Regions from separate parts of the Homo sapiens genome. Here all the other regions are linked to region 1. The links are contacts of gene promoters, found by promoter capture Hi-C in blood cells and fetal thymus (Javierre and others, 2016). All regions are on one chromosome and are shown on one strand. The core of a region is centred on a gene start or on the middle of the fragment in contact, and the rest is flanking DNA. Distances in the headings are between cores, read along the strand shown. Region 1 holds the start of SLC47A1 (solute carrier family 47 member 1). Region 2 overlaps ULK2 (unc-51 like autophagy activating kinase 2). Region 3 overlaps ULK2 (unc-51 like autophagy activating kinase 2).

Region 1 (4,498 bases), core at 1,719-4,218:
CGAAGCTGCTTTGAGCCGAGATCAAACCATTGCATTCCAGTCCAGGCGACAGAGAGAGACCCTGTCCCCCCGAAAAGAAAAAAAAAAAACCCTGATAAAATTCAATTTTAATACATGCTTTTAATAATATATTTCAGCAAGTTAAGAACCGTATATGAACATACTTATGACTATTTATCAAGCATCAATAACAAATTCATCATATCCCTAGTCCAGTGAGTCTCCCATTCCCTAGATGAGTACTGATTAGACTAGGGATATGATTGAAATAGAAGACAGAATTTTAACGAGGTGCATTCTTTCTGAATAAATCTGCAGATATAATGCAATGTCAATCAAAATCCTAACACTTTCCAAGTAACAGGGTTCTTTGTTCTTTTAATTGTTTTGTTTTTTGTTTTTTATTGAGATAGGGTCTCACTCTGCTGCCCAGGCTGGAGTGCTGTAGTGCAATCATAGCTCACTGCAGCCTCAAACTGCGGGGCTCAGTCGATCCTGTCACCTCAGCCTCCCAAAGTGCTGGGGCTACAGGTGTGGGCTACTCACCTGTACAATGTGCTCAGCCAACCACACGTTGTTTTAAAAGCTATTTACCAGCCAATAGAGCTACTTCTTTCCTCCTTACTTTTCTTTTTCAGAGTTTTTGTTATATCTTTTCCTGTTTACACTATCAATTGCTTTTAGAATCATTCTATTAAATTTTAAAATAATGGAATACACAGTAGTGGACTAAAACCTAATATATTAATTGAAAATTAATTTTCCTGTGCTACTTTTTGGAAGGAAGTCACTGTGTACAATCCACCTTTAAGGAGTGAGGAGTTATGCTCTGTATCACGAGGACCTTTTGTTTTTTGTTGCTATTGTGAAAGATTTCTTTTAGTATTTTCATATATGTTATTACCAATATAAAGGACTGATATGACTTGTTGAAGAACTTCTATGTAGCAACTTTATTAAACCCCTTTATCAATTCTATTAGCTTTTGTTCATATTTTATTTCTTTGGGTTGTGTGGATTTTTTTTAAGAGATGGGGTCTCACTGTGTTGCCCAGGCTGGTCTCAAAACTCCTGGGTTCCAGTGATCCTCCCACCTCGGCCTTCCAAAGTGTTGGGATTATAGGCATGAGCCACTGTGCCTGGCCCGGTCTGTCAATTTCTACTGTGAGTAATCCCTTTGCCTTTTCTTTCCTAACATTATACATTACATTTCCATTTCCTGTCTTATTACATCAGTCAGGACTTCCAGAAAATTATCAAAAAACAGCAGTGATCAGAGATCTAGTGAATATCCTCGGGTATTTGTCTGTTGACACTCTCAGTTCTTTTGGGAAACTGCGCTACTCCATATGTACAGTCCTTGTGGGACGAGACCAGTCACAGGGCACCTAACCCTAACCCTGTAGGTTCAAAGCTGGGTGCATGGTCCAGGGCCAGCCAAACATCAGACCCTATTTTCCCACCCAGGGCGATTGTTCCAGAGGTGGGCAAGAAACCTAAGCAGGGCCAACCAGATTTTCTCCCAGTTTTTTGTTTGTTAGTTTGGAACCAGAAGAGAGGAGGGGAGGGCCTTACTTTCTGGTTTAACAGACGGGAAAGATAGGAACGAGGGTATCAGAGGCCACCACTGTCACTTGCACAGGAAGAGAAAGGCTGCCGGCAGAGGAGGAAGAGAAACTACGGAAAGAATCCCAAGGGGCGAGGAGAAGGGAGGAGAGGGACAGAGATGGGAAGAGGGACAACAAGAATGATCTGGTTTTGTTTTTTTTTTTTTTTTGAGTGGAGTCTCCCTCTGCCACCAGGCTGGAGTGCAGTGGCGAGATCTCGGCTCACTGCAACCTCTGCCTCCCGGGTTCAAGCAATTCTCCTGCCTCAGCCTCCCTAGTAGCTGGGATTATGGCGCGCGCCACCATGCACAGCTAATTTTCGGTACAGACGGTGTTTCACCATGTTGGCCAGGATGGTCTCGATCTCTTGACCTTGTGATCCGCCCGCCTAGGCCTCCCAAAGTGCTGGGATTACAGGCGTGAGCCACCGCGCCTGGCCTAATGACCTTGTTTTCAAATCCCTGAATCCAAACTTCCTGATTATGTGAGCCAAAAAATTTGTTTTCCATTTTCTCTACTTACATTGGATCATTACAACGGAAGGAATTTTGACTATTAGAGAAATCAATCTTGTCCTGGTAACTGACACTTATTAGGTAACGGCTGGTGCCAGGCTGAGGGCAGGTGGCACTGACTCCGGTCCTCCGCCCAGGCAACCCCAGTCTTCACAGCTGGCGACGAGTGTTCTTTCACGTTTGCAGATGAGGAAGCTGAGGCTCTGGGAGGAAAGCGCGCTGCTCCTGCCCTTCTGGGCCGCAGCCTCTCGTACTCCCACAGCAGGCTTGATGGATAAACTTCCAACACGACCAGCTGGCACAAACTGTGCTACTTGGCAAATGGGAGCATGTTGCTCTATCCTGGTAGATTCTAAGTTCTCTAATGGAACAACTGATGAGAGGAGAGGAGTATGCAACACCCTAACCAGCATCAAAGGGTGTACCCAACTCAATCTGCACAGCAAATGCGCCCAACCCCACACACCCCGCGGGGTGCTAACCGAGTCACGGCTCGAGGCCTCTGGGTCCTTCCACGCCAGGTCATTCAGAACCTGAAACCCCCAGCGGAGGTGGAGAGCCGGGGTGAGTCCTGGCGTCCGAGACGTGGAGGACCCAGCCCCCGGAGCGCGTTCCGTTAGTTTACAGAGCTTTTTCAAACTTTGCCTTCCAAGTGCAGGAGTTCCTTGGTCTTTGCAAGACCCGCAGGCGTCCGCAGTGGTGCAGAGAGAGGTGCAAGGGGCGCGCCCAAGGTCGCAGGCTGCCTGGCTGCGCGCTCAGTCGGGCCCCCGGGCGCCAGGCGCGGGGCGGGCTCTGGGCGGGCGGCCGGGGCGGGGACTGCAGAGCAGGCTGCACTGCGCGGTACCCACTGCCGGCCTGCGCGGTACTCACTGCCGGCCTCCGCGGTACCCACTGCCGGCCTCCGCGCTACCCGGCCGCAGCGCGCGAGTCACATGGAAGCTCCTGAGGAGCCCGCGCCAGTGCGCGGAGGCCCGGAGGCCACCCTTGAGGTCCGTGGGTCGCGCTGCTTGCGGCTGTCCGCCTTCCGAGAAGAGCTGCGGGCGCTCTTGGTCCTGGCTGGCCCCGCGGTGAGTAAGGTGGCCTCAGTGGCAGGCCGGTACCGGCGGGCTGGGGACCTGGTGATTTCTGCCTCCGCGGGTGACTTTGGCGGGCTTTGGGGACCGAGCGAGCTGTCCGCCGGCGGGCTCCGGGGAGCATCGTGCCAGGAGCCGGGCGGGCACCCCAGCTCCTCTGCCTGCGTCCCGGCCGCTTTCCGCTCCGCACCACCCGACTGGGGGCCCCGCGGGGCACTGCGGGAACGGCTGGTACGCGCCCGGGCGCATGTTGGCTCGGAGAGGCCGGCGGCTCCAGCCTCCTGCGCCAGGAGACACCGGAGAGCTGGGACCTTTGCCCCTAACGGGGCTCTACCAGGTCCAGGCTGCATTTGCATCCGGGGGTGCCTTCTCTGGGAGCTGATTCCGGCCAATAAAACGCAAGTTGCCTGAACTTCAAAACACAAGGGAACTTGTTTCTTTGAAAAGTAGCGGTCAAAAGTTCGGGAGCTCTGCGATCTAAATAATCCCGAGGCACGGAGGAGGGGGTGCGTGGTCTGTCGTGGACTCAGAGCTGCGAAATGATTTCTTCAGAATTCAGTCAACCTCTACCGAGGAAACCAGAGGCATCCTGTACCACCCCCTCCCCGCCAGTAATTATGTATGTGAAAGAAAAAAGGGGTTTTAATGTGGTTCTTTGTGGGGTCGAGGTGTTCTTATCTGTGGGATTCTTTTCTTTTTAATCATTAGGTTAGGGCTGTTTCTGCCTTGTCTCCTAAAAATAATGTGGTTTTAAAAACCACAAAAACACAATCCTATCCACGTTCTCCTGCCAGCTTGGGTGGTTTTCAAACCGAGAGGGTAGGACGCGGCACAAGAAGCAACTGGTATGCACTTAAGGCGTGAATAAGCTTTTGACTTTGAGGCCCACATTCTGCACCTGCGCGGGCTGAGGGGGGCCGCTGTGCCTCTGGAGTGGGGGCTCGGTAGTTTGTGGGATATTGTGGCACCCGCTGTGGTGTGCAGGACAGCAAGGGTAATGCCGAGGTCAAAGCCATGGAATAAGATCCATCAGCCATGCTTTCTCACAGACCAGAAAGAACTCATGATTTGGGGCTGGGCGCGGTGGTTCACGCCTGTAATCCCAGCACTTTGGGAGGCTGAGGCAGATGGATCACTTGAGGTCAGGAGTTCGAGACCAGCCTGGCCAATATGGTGAAACTCCGTCTCTACTAAAAATACAAAAATTAGCCAGACGTGGTGGCGGGCGCCTGTAGTGCCAGCTACTCCAGAGGCTGAGGCACGAGAATCGCTTGAACCTGGGAAGTGGAGGTTACAGTGAGCC
Region 2 (4,480 bases), core at 785-3,284, 270 kb after region 1:
TCTTCCTCAATTCTTAAAAGTAATTATACATTTTAAGTATATATGTCTATACACATGTATACTTAACATATATAAAATATATACAAATATATACATATCATACTATATTATCAAGCTAAGCTTAAATAGCATTTAAATTCATCAATTATAAAACTTTATTATTCAATTTTGTGCGTTCCCATTATACACACATGTAAGACACTATGCCACAGAAAGTAACATATCTTCCAATATCAATAAATTTTTTTTAAAGGAGATGAAAAAGAATTAAGCAAGAAAAAAGCTACTAACTTACCTTGGAGAACCATGTACATTTGTGCCTGAGCTGGCAGTAGATGTAAGATTCTGCTCTATGCGCTGATAATTCCTTATTTGAGTAGGAACTGGAATTGGTGCTGTTTCGCTGTGAGGTGACACAGTAGGCTGACACTGCCTGCAATCGTAATTTATTGAAAAAGGAAAGAAACAGTGGTAGGATTGTTTTTCTTTCATTTGACCCATTAGTTATATTTAGAGAAAATTCCAGAAAGAGCCAAATGGTCACTCCACTACCTTAATAAGAAATGATCTTGTTAAAAAATATATAAAGCCAAAAAAAATCACATTTATTATCTAAAAAACTCCTGGCATTCATATGCATATTGAGGACTAAGAATTATAATAACCTGGAAAAAAGTTCCTTTACAACAACAGGAAAAGTCCACAGGTCAGCAAAACTGTTTCATCCACTCACATTCTGCTATTCATTACTATGTGAGAGAAAAAATATCCAGGAAAATATGCTGGGTAAAAGAACGGGAAGTTCAACAACAAAGATGACTGGAATGTTTGCAAAAGTCATGAATGCTGTAAGCATTCTCAAAGAGCTCTGACTTTATGAAGAAGGAGAACATCTTGCACAAACTCTCAAAGCATGCAACTCATCTGACGTCCACATTTTGTAGTGTCAGTATTTGGTTTCTTTAATAGCCTCTTTCCTCACTTTTCATAAATTCAGAAATAGAATGTCCTTATACCACTTTCAATTCACTTTACAACATATCCTAAAAACATATCAGAGATAACACTGGGCCCTAAGAGAGATGACTTATTTCAAAGTAAAAAGAAATACAAAACACTTTTGTAGTGGAGATGTTAGCTGCTTTCCCAATATCCATTCAGCCTTTATGTCTTACTAAAAAATAACTTAAATTTTATTAGTGGCAATAATATGCCCAATTAATTGCAGCATATCCCAGACTCCCTTGCAGCCAAGCATAACCATATGTCTTTCTTGGTCAGTGAGATATAAGCAGAAGTCTTCTACTCATTCTTCCTGTTCAAAATGTGAGCATGCTTGCTGGAGCTTCAGCAGATACCTTTGAACCACAAAAAAAAAGGCCAAAAGACCTGAAGACACGTAACTTCCTTGAGCCACAGAAACTAAGGAAACAACTGTTTATCGTGACTTTTCTGCATGAGAGAAAACCTTTAAGTGTTCAACCACTCTATAGTTAGGACCCTGTGGTTTACAGCCAAGTGGAATTCCTAATGATACGCCATTTAGTGTGCTTCTATGAGCTCTCTCTATACATTTTTATTTAGGTATTTCCATTTAGTATCTTTAAATACAATAATGTTTTTAATATCTACACATCTGATTCTTCAGTTTATCTACATCCTAAAAACAAACAAACAAAATCCCAAAAACACAAACCCTCTACTACCACTAAAACAGCTTAACAGTACTTCACTAATCAGCTCTGGTGTCTGCAAGCCAGTGCACTCATAGGTCTGACAACCCAAGTTCCTTAACAACAGAATAACCAACACAGTCATCAATTATCAGAATGTGAAAGAATAAATGCCATTTTTTTATTGTTTCAATTTAGTAAGTAAACAGAGTTTTTGAAGCATTCATTCCCTGCTAAAGTACATCAGGGAATTTTTTTTAAATACACATTATCAAGCTCTAAAATTTTTCCTGTACTGGTTAATCTCCAAAGGGAAGAAGCTAAATAAAGGTACCCAAAGAAGTAAACTTAGCAACCTCATAATTCTAAGCACCTCTCTCAGGTAATCTCAGCTGGCTTCTCTAACACCTCTGGTTCCTCCCCCTACCAGCATGAGGACATGAACAGCCATGGATGGTGTTCTGCAAATGTTATCTCAGATAGTCTCTGGACAGGACCTGCAAGCAGACTTGCTCAGGGTCTAGAAAGTCTTCCCTGGACAAATTCCAGATCTCTAGCTAGCTAAGACAACTGCAGCCATTTTCCTGTACAACTTAATATTAACACCAATATTTAACCATCTTCAACTCCCTGAGTCCAAGTTAAGGAGAGGGAAAGTCTGTGTATGTCCTGAGTCTCCAGCACATCTTCCTCACCTCCACTAGGGCCTACAATTCACAACATTCTCTGTGTGGACCGTCATCTTGGACCCATATGAAATACTTGAAAGATAAGGCAGCCTGGCCACACAAAAGCACAATCACATGTTATTCTATCTACTTGTGCTGAGAGGAAAGCACAAATGCAAATGGACAAATAAAGACTAGGTGATAGCATGACAACTTCTTCAAATACACAATCTTTACACCAGGAAATCCCCAGTTGCCTCTTTGTTTTAGAAGACTCCATGAGTAAATCCTGAAAGGGTGACAGGTAATCAGGAAAGCAAGGGTTCAGCTGGAAGTAATGCCAAGGGACAGAGGGAGAGAAGAAGGAAGGATCTATGCATAAGAGCTCCTGTGAAACTCAATCTAGCAGACTAATGCTAAGCCACAGTTGTGAGCTCATGCTCATGAGGCTGTGTAAGTGATGGGGAGCCAAGTGGAGATAACCTGCTCATCACCCAGAGACCCAAGCAGCATCAGAAAAGGGCCTAGTGTGGCACACAGGCACACAGCTTGCAAGGTTCTAGTGAGAAAGGGGTTACTGCATGTAAAGGGAAGCAATCAGAAGGGTAGAAATCCACTCAGATGGTGCACTCTAATGCACCATGGGCTGTGTATGCAGCTGGCCTCCATCAATGTCTGGCAACAACCAGTCTTAGAATTCTGATATCCTAACTCCCATGCCTATGCCTATTTTTTGTCTGGATGCACAAGGAATAGATATTATATTCCCTACATGTACTGAAAACTGCCATGTAGCTATTGAAGGCACTATTACTAAGAAGTGCTGCTTTAGAGAAAAATGCATATTCACTGGTAAAGGAAAGTTCAAGAATTAGACCATAGGAAGAGAAGCCAAAAAGGAGCCAAAGATGACTCAAGAAGAAAAAAAGGCAGCACATCAAAAGAAGTGAAAATCTGGCAATATACAATTCCCATAATTGAATTCCCATATCCTCAAAGAGAGGAAAGAAACAAGATTGTACAAGATTTGCTTATCCCCGTGGTTCCCAAACTGTGCACTGAGGGCCCCCAAGGTACCAGTGCTACTCAAGGGGCGCCTTAGAGTACATCAAATTGTTTAAGGTTTGGGAGGCTGAAGCAGGTGGATCACGAGGTCAGGAGTTCAAGACCAGCCTGACCAACATGGCGAAACCCCGTCTCTACTAAAAATACAAAAAATTAGCCAGGCGTGGTGGCGGGTACCTGTAATCCCAGCTACCCTGGAGGCTGAGGCAGGAGAATTGCTTGAACCTGGGAGGCGGAGGCTGCAGCAAGCCGAAATCGCACCATTGCACTCCAGCCTGGGCAACAAGAGCGAAACTCCATCTCAAAAATAAAAGATACTCTTGCATATACAGTGAAATGATCTCAGACAAGAATGCTAAGACCACACAATGGGACAGGGACAGTCTCTTCAGCAAATGGTGCTGGGAAAATTGGATATCCACATGCAAAAGAGTAAAGTTGGAATCTTATCATACACCATACACAAAAATTAACTCAAAGGGGATTAAAGGCCTGAACATTATACCCAAAACTATAAAACTCCTAGACAAAAACATAGAGGGAAAGCTTAATATGACATAAGAGTAGGCAATGATTTCTTGAATATGATGCCAAAAGCACAGGCAACAAAACAAAAAATACACAAATATGACCTCCTCAAACTTAAAAAATGTTCATGTATCAAAGGACACAAAGAGTCAAAAGACAACCAAGAGAATGGGAAGAAATATTTGCAAATCATACCTGACAAGAGGCTAATATCCAAAATATACAGAGAACTCTTACAACCCAACAACAAAAACCCAAATAACTCAATTTAAAAATGGGCAAAGATCTTGACTGGACATTTCTCCAAAGATGATATACAAATGGCTAAGAAGTATAAGAAAAGATGTTCAATATCACTAATCATTAGAGAAGTGCAAATCAAAATCACAATGAGGTATCACCTCACACTCATTAATTAGGATGGCTGTTATTTTAGAAAATAACAAATGCTGGTGAGAATGTGGAGAAACTGGAACCCCTGTGCACTGTTGGTTGGACTGTAAAATGGTATAACTGCTATGGAAAATTTAGCCAATTCCTGAAAAA
Region 3 (4,196 bases), core at 546-3,045, 290 kb after region 1:
GGTTCTTACTATGTTGCCCAGTCTGGCCTTGAACTCCTGGGATCAAGCAATCCTCCCATTTCAGCCTCCCTTACAGCTGAGTCTACAGTCATGCCCAGGCACGCCTGGCTATTTTTTTTTTTTTTTTTTTAGTAGAGATGGGTGGTCTTGATATGTTGCCCACGCTGGTCTTGAACTCCTGGAATCAAACAATATTCCTGCCTCAGAAAAAATAGGTTTGTCCACCAGAGTTTTTAACATCTAAAAAAGACTTTCTCTTTCTCCTGCCTCTCTTCACTCCTCCAGTTAGTTCTACATTCAGCTACTCCTTGGCAGCCCTAGCCTGGCTCCTATTTTGTCCTCCTCTTTCAACCAACAAAAACCCCAAAATGCTCTCTCCAGTCAAAGAAAATTTCCAGTTCAACGTCCTCCCTACTGGCCTCTCTCATCCCTCAGTCACACTATCACCCCACAGGCTCCTTTATGTTTGCTCTCCCAAAATTAGATTCTTCCCTGTTGTTCTTTCCTCTAGCACAAGCTTTGCTTTTCATATTACATTGTGTCAAATATATGGTTCATAATAATAGCCACAATTTATTGAGACTTTGCCATGGCTAGGCACTTCCCACATCTTACTACCAGGACCCTGCAAGCAAAGGTTAAACAAGCCTATGGTCCAGATGAGGACACCATGGCCCACCTCTCTAACTGACCGGCCCAAAGTCACTGAGTGGGCAAGCAGCAGGGCTAGGATTGGTGCCAGCGTGTCTGGCTCTTAATTTTTTTAGTTCACCAGAACATAACATAAGTCTTATTAACATAATCTGCTTTATCTATTTGGTATGAATTTGCGGGGCTGTGTAAGAAAGGTTTGCTGCCAGTTTTGAGACTTGTCTGTTTGCAACAGGCTACATCTGCATCTGCTTTACCTAACAGTTGCCACCCCTTGCGTTATATACTATGTGTCAGACCCTGCATGCAATAAGTGCTTACACTCACTTATCCCTGAAGAACCCTACGAGGTAGGTAAATTACACTTACTTGACATACAAAAAAAAGGTGTCCTATATGACAGGTAAGGTACATGGAGGCTGCAAGCCCCATCCACTTAAACCTCTGAGTTGTCTCACTTTTATGGCTCCCCTATCTTTCTGCCAGCGGCATTCAAGAAATTGATGTCTGGGGCAGGGTGCCGTGGCTCACACTTTGGGAGGCCAAGGCGGGCAGATCACTTGAGTTCAGGAGTTTCAGACCAGCCTGGCCAACATAGTGAAACCCCGTCTCTACAAAAGATACAAAAAATTAGCTGGGTGTGGTGGTGTGCGCCTACAGTCCCAGCTACTTGGGAGGCTGAGGCTGGGAGAATCGCTTAAACCCAGGAGGCGGAGGTTGCAGTGAGCCAAGATGGAGCCACTAAACTCCAGCCTGGGCGACAGAGCGAAACTCCATCTCAAAAAAAAAAAAAAAAAAAAAAAAAAAAGCCTAAGAGAAGAGTGGAGTAGGAAGAAGTGACTAGAGTGACCAGAAGGCCTCAGGATTAGGAAGAAGTACTGAGATGGGAGGGAACACAGCCATGAAGAAAATGCCTTGGGAGCTTCAGGGAAAGGAAGAGGTTTGAGTAGAAGCCACCTTAAAGCGCCAGAAATCATGATTAAGAGAATCTAAGTCAGTGAAATCTGGCTCAGAGGTGACTCCTCCCTCAGTAGAAATTCCACATACAAAAAAAATCCAAGCTCATGTCTACGGCATTCAGATCAAATAAATATTTATTGCCTATCCACCTGTAATGGGTACTCTGTTTGCAAGTATCATCACCAAAACACCATAGGGTATAAGAAGGTGATAGTGCTATACTCACTGTTCAGAGGAAAATGGCCCAGAGAGGTGACATTTCTTTCTGGAGCTTACACAGTAACATATGGACAGAGGCCCGAATGCAGGTCCATTTGACCCAACTATCATGTTCTTTCCCCCAAATCTCAGCTACATTAGTAAACATTACACATAAAAAGAATATCCACAGTGTATGTGCATGCTCCATTTGAGAAAAGATGTAATAGCACTAACTCTGAAATTATTTTTAATAAACTGTAACTTACTGGTGGAGAAGCAAAACGACAAGATGGAGAGCTGCCACAGGAGCTTCCAGAGACAGAACCAGAATACATGGGCACTGGAACTGGGCAAGCTAGGGGAAGAAACACAAATGAACTACATCATTTTGTAGTGCAGTCACATGACCTGTATAACAGAAACACTTGCCAAAACTACTACACCTTTGTGTTCCCCCAAAATCTGCATTTACCTATTTATTACCACATCTGCTGATGAAACTAAAAATGCAGCAATTACTAAAACTATTTCAACTTCGTTTCAGAAGGAAAAATAGAACAGTTATTAAATAAACACAACCGTAGGTATCTAAGAAAATCAGGCTGGGAGCAGAGGCTCACTCCTATAATCCCAACACTTTGGGAGGCTGAGGCAGGAGGATCACTTGAGGTCAGGAGTTTGAGACCAGCCTGACCAACATGGTGAAACCTCGTCTCTACTAAAAATACAAAAATTAGCCAGGTGTGGTAGTGCCCGCCTGTAATCCCAGCTACTCCAGAGGCTGAGGCAGGAGAATCACTTGAAACCAGGAAGCAGAGGTTGTACCACTGCACTCCAGCCTGAGTGACAGAGCAAGACTCCGTTTAAAAAAAAAAGTAGCTGGGTGTGGTGGCTCACACCTGTAATTCCAGCACTTTGTGGGGCTGAGGCGGGTGGATCACCTGAGGTCCGGAGTTCGAGACCAGCCTGACCAACATGGAGAAACCCCATCTCTACTAAAAATACAAAATTAGCCGGGCATGGTGGCGCATGCCTGTAATCCCAGCTACTCCAGAGGCTGAGGCAGGAGAATGGCTTGAACCCGGGAGGTGGAGGTTGCTGTGAGCCGAGATCACGCCACTGCACTCCAGCCTGGGCAACAAGAGCGAAACTCCATCTCAAAAAAAAAAAAAAAAAATAAATAAATAAATAAATAAATTCAATGAAATTTTAGGAGTCACAATAAAAGATGAATTTTGTAGTAAAAATCATTAATTTTTCCTAAAGCTTGCATTCATTCTTTAAGTGAAAATACAAAAAATGGATACTCACATTTTTTTACTGGACCTTGCTCAAGAAAAGGATGGCTAAAAAATGCTTCTGTAACAAGAAATGAGAATGCAACCTTTAAAGAGACATTGACTAAACTATCAACCAGGTTATTTTTTCTCAACGTATTCAATATAATGTCTTTGAGATCAGAATTTAACTTCTTTATATAGGCTCCATTTCCTTTAAATGTAAAAGCGTATTTTTTATAAATCCTCTATAAAATAATTATTTTTATAATCATATAAAATAATGAATCAATAACAAATTTTAAATAATTACGAATTCTCAAAACATCTATCACCAGCACAACATACTCTGATGCTACTTACACAGACATGTTCTCTAACGTATGCCACCCTCCAGTGGACAGCCCCACAGGAGAACTGTGATCACCAGGCCCTTGTTAAGCACCCATGTGAACTACAGCTGTTAATTGTCCTAAGAGGAAATTGATACAGCTGATTTATACAACAAACTATCCTTCGCCCCTACAAGTATTCCTGATGCTGGTTTCACATTAAAAAGAGAAAAAACTGGCCGGGTGTGGTGGCTCACGCCCGTAAGCCCAGCACTTTGGGAGGCCGAGGCAGGCAGATCACCTAAGGTCAGGAGATTGAGACCATCCTGGCTAACACGGTGAAACCCTGTCTCTACTAAAGATACAAAAAATTAGCTGGGCATGGCGGCCGGCGCCTGTAGTCCCAGCTACTCGGGAGGCTGAGGCAGGAGAATGGCGTGAACCCGGGAGGCGGAGCTTGCAGTGAGCCGAGATCGCGCCACTGCACTCCAGCCTGGGTGACAGAGCGAGACTCCGTCTCAAAAAAAAAAAAAAAGAAACTACAAAAACAATACATTCAATAATTTTAAAACCATTCTCCATAATAGTTGTTTCACTATTGACCATAATTCTCATGGTTCAGAGCAACTCTCAGCTTAACTTCTCCCTAATAGGTATAAATATTTCCAACTACATGAACTTAATTTTAGTCCAACTTTACAAAACATTAAGAAAATAGGTATTCAGACCATTTCATCTTTTCCCCGACATGGAAACAATTACAGCTATCCTCTAC

What was found. Contacts are between HindIII fragments. The CHiCAGO score rates a contact against its expected background, and 5 or more counts as called.
Region 2: a contact is called between a fragment that was not itself captured here and the fragment with the promoter of SLC47A1 in region 1, in 7 of 17 cell types (non-activated CD4 T cells, naive CD4 T cells, total CD4 T cells and 4 more). The highest score is 9.7, in non-activated CD4 T cells.
Region 3: a contact is called between a fragment that was not itself captured here and the fragment with the promoter of SLC47A1 in region 1, in 1 of 17 cell types (naive CD4 T cells). The highest score is 6.1, in naive CD4 T cells.

The regions. Positions count from the first base shown.
Region 1 is chr17:19,530,886-19,535,383 of GRCh38, forward strand. It overlaps SLC47A1 (solute carrier family 47 member 1), which reads left to right and starts at 2,969. Exons shown (of 17, transcript NM_018242.3): 1 at 2,969-3,189. The coding sequence starts at 3,055. The HindIII fragment of the contact is 8,699 bases long and covers 1-4,062 here.
Region 2 is chr17:19,804,398-19,808,877 of GRCh38, forward strand. ULK2 (unc-51 like autophagy activating kinase 2) reads right to left here. Exons shown (of 27, transcript NM_014683.4): 15 at 296-433. Among named protein-coding and RNA genes, the nearest start is that of TRG-CCC3-1, 54 kb to the right of the region's middle. The HindIII fragment of the contact is 3,832 bases long and covers 119-3,950 here.
Region 3 is chr17:19,823,016-19,827,211 of GRCh38, forward strand. ULK2 (unc-51 like autophagy activating kinase 2) reads right to left here. Exons shown (of 27, transcript NM_014683.4): 11 at 3,124-3,171; 12 at 2,079-2,167. Among named protein-coding and RNA genes, the nearest start is that of TRG-CCC3-1, 36 kb to the right of the region's middle. The HindIII fragment of the contact is 2,561 bases long and covers 516-3,076 here.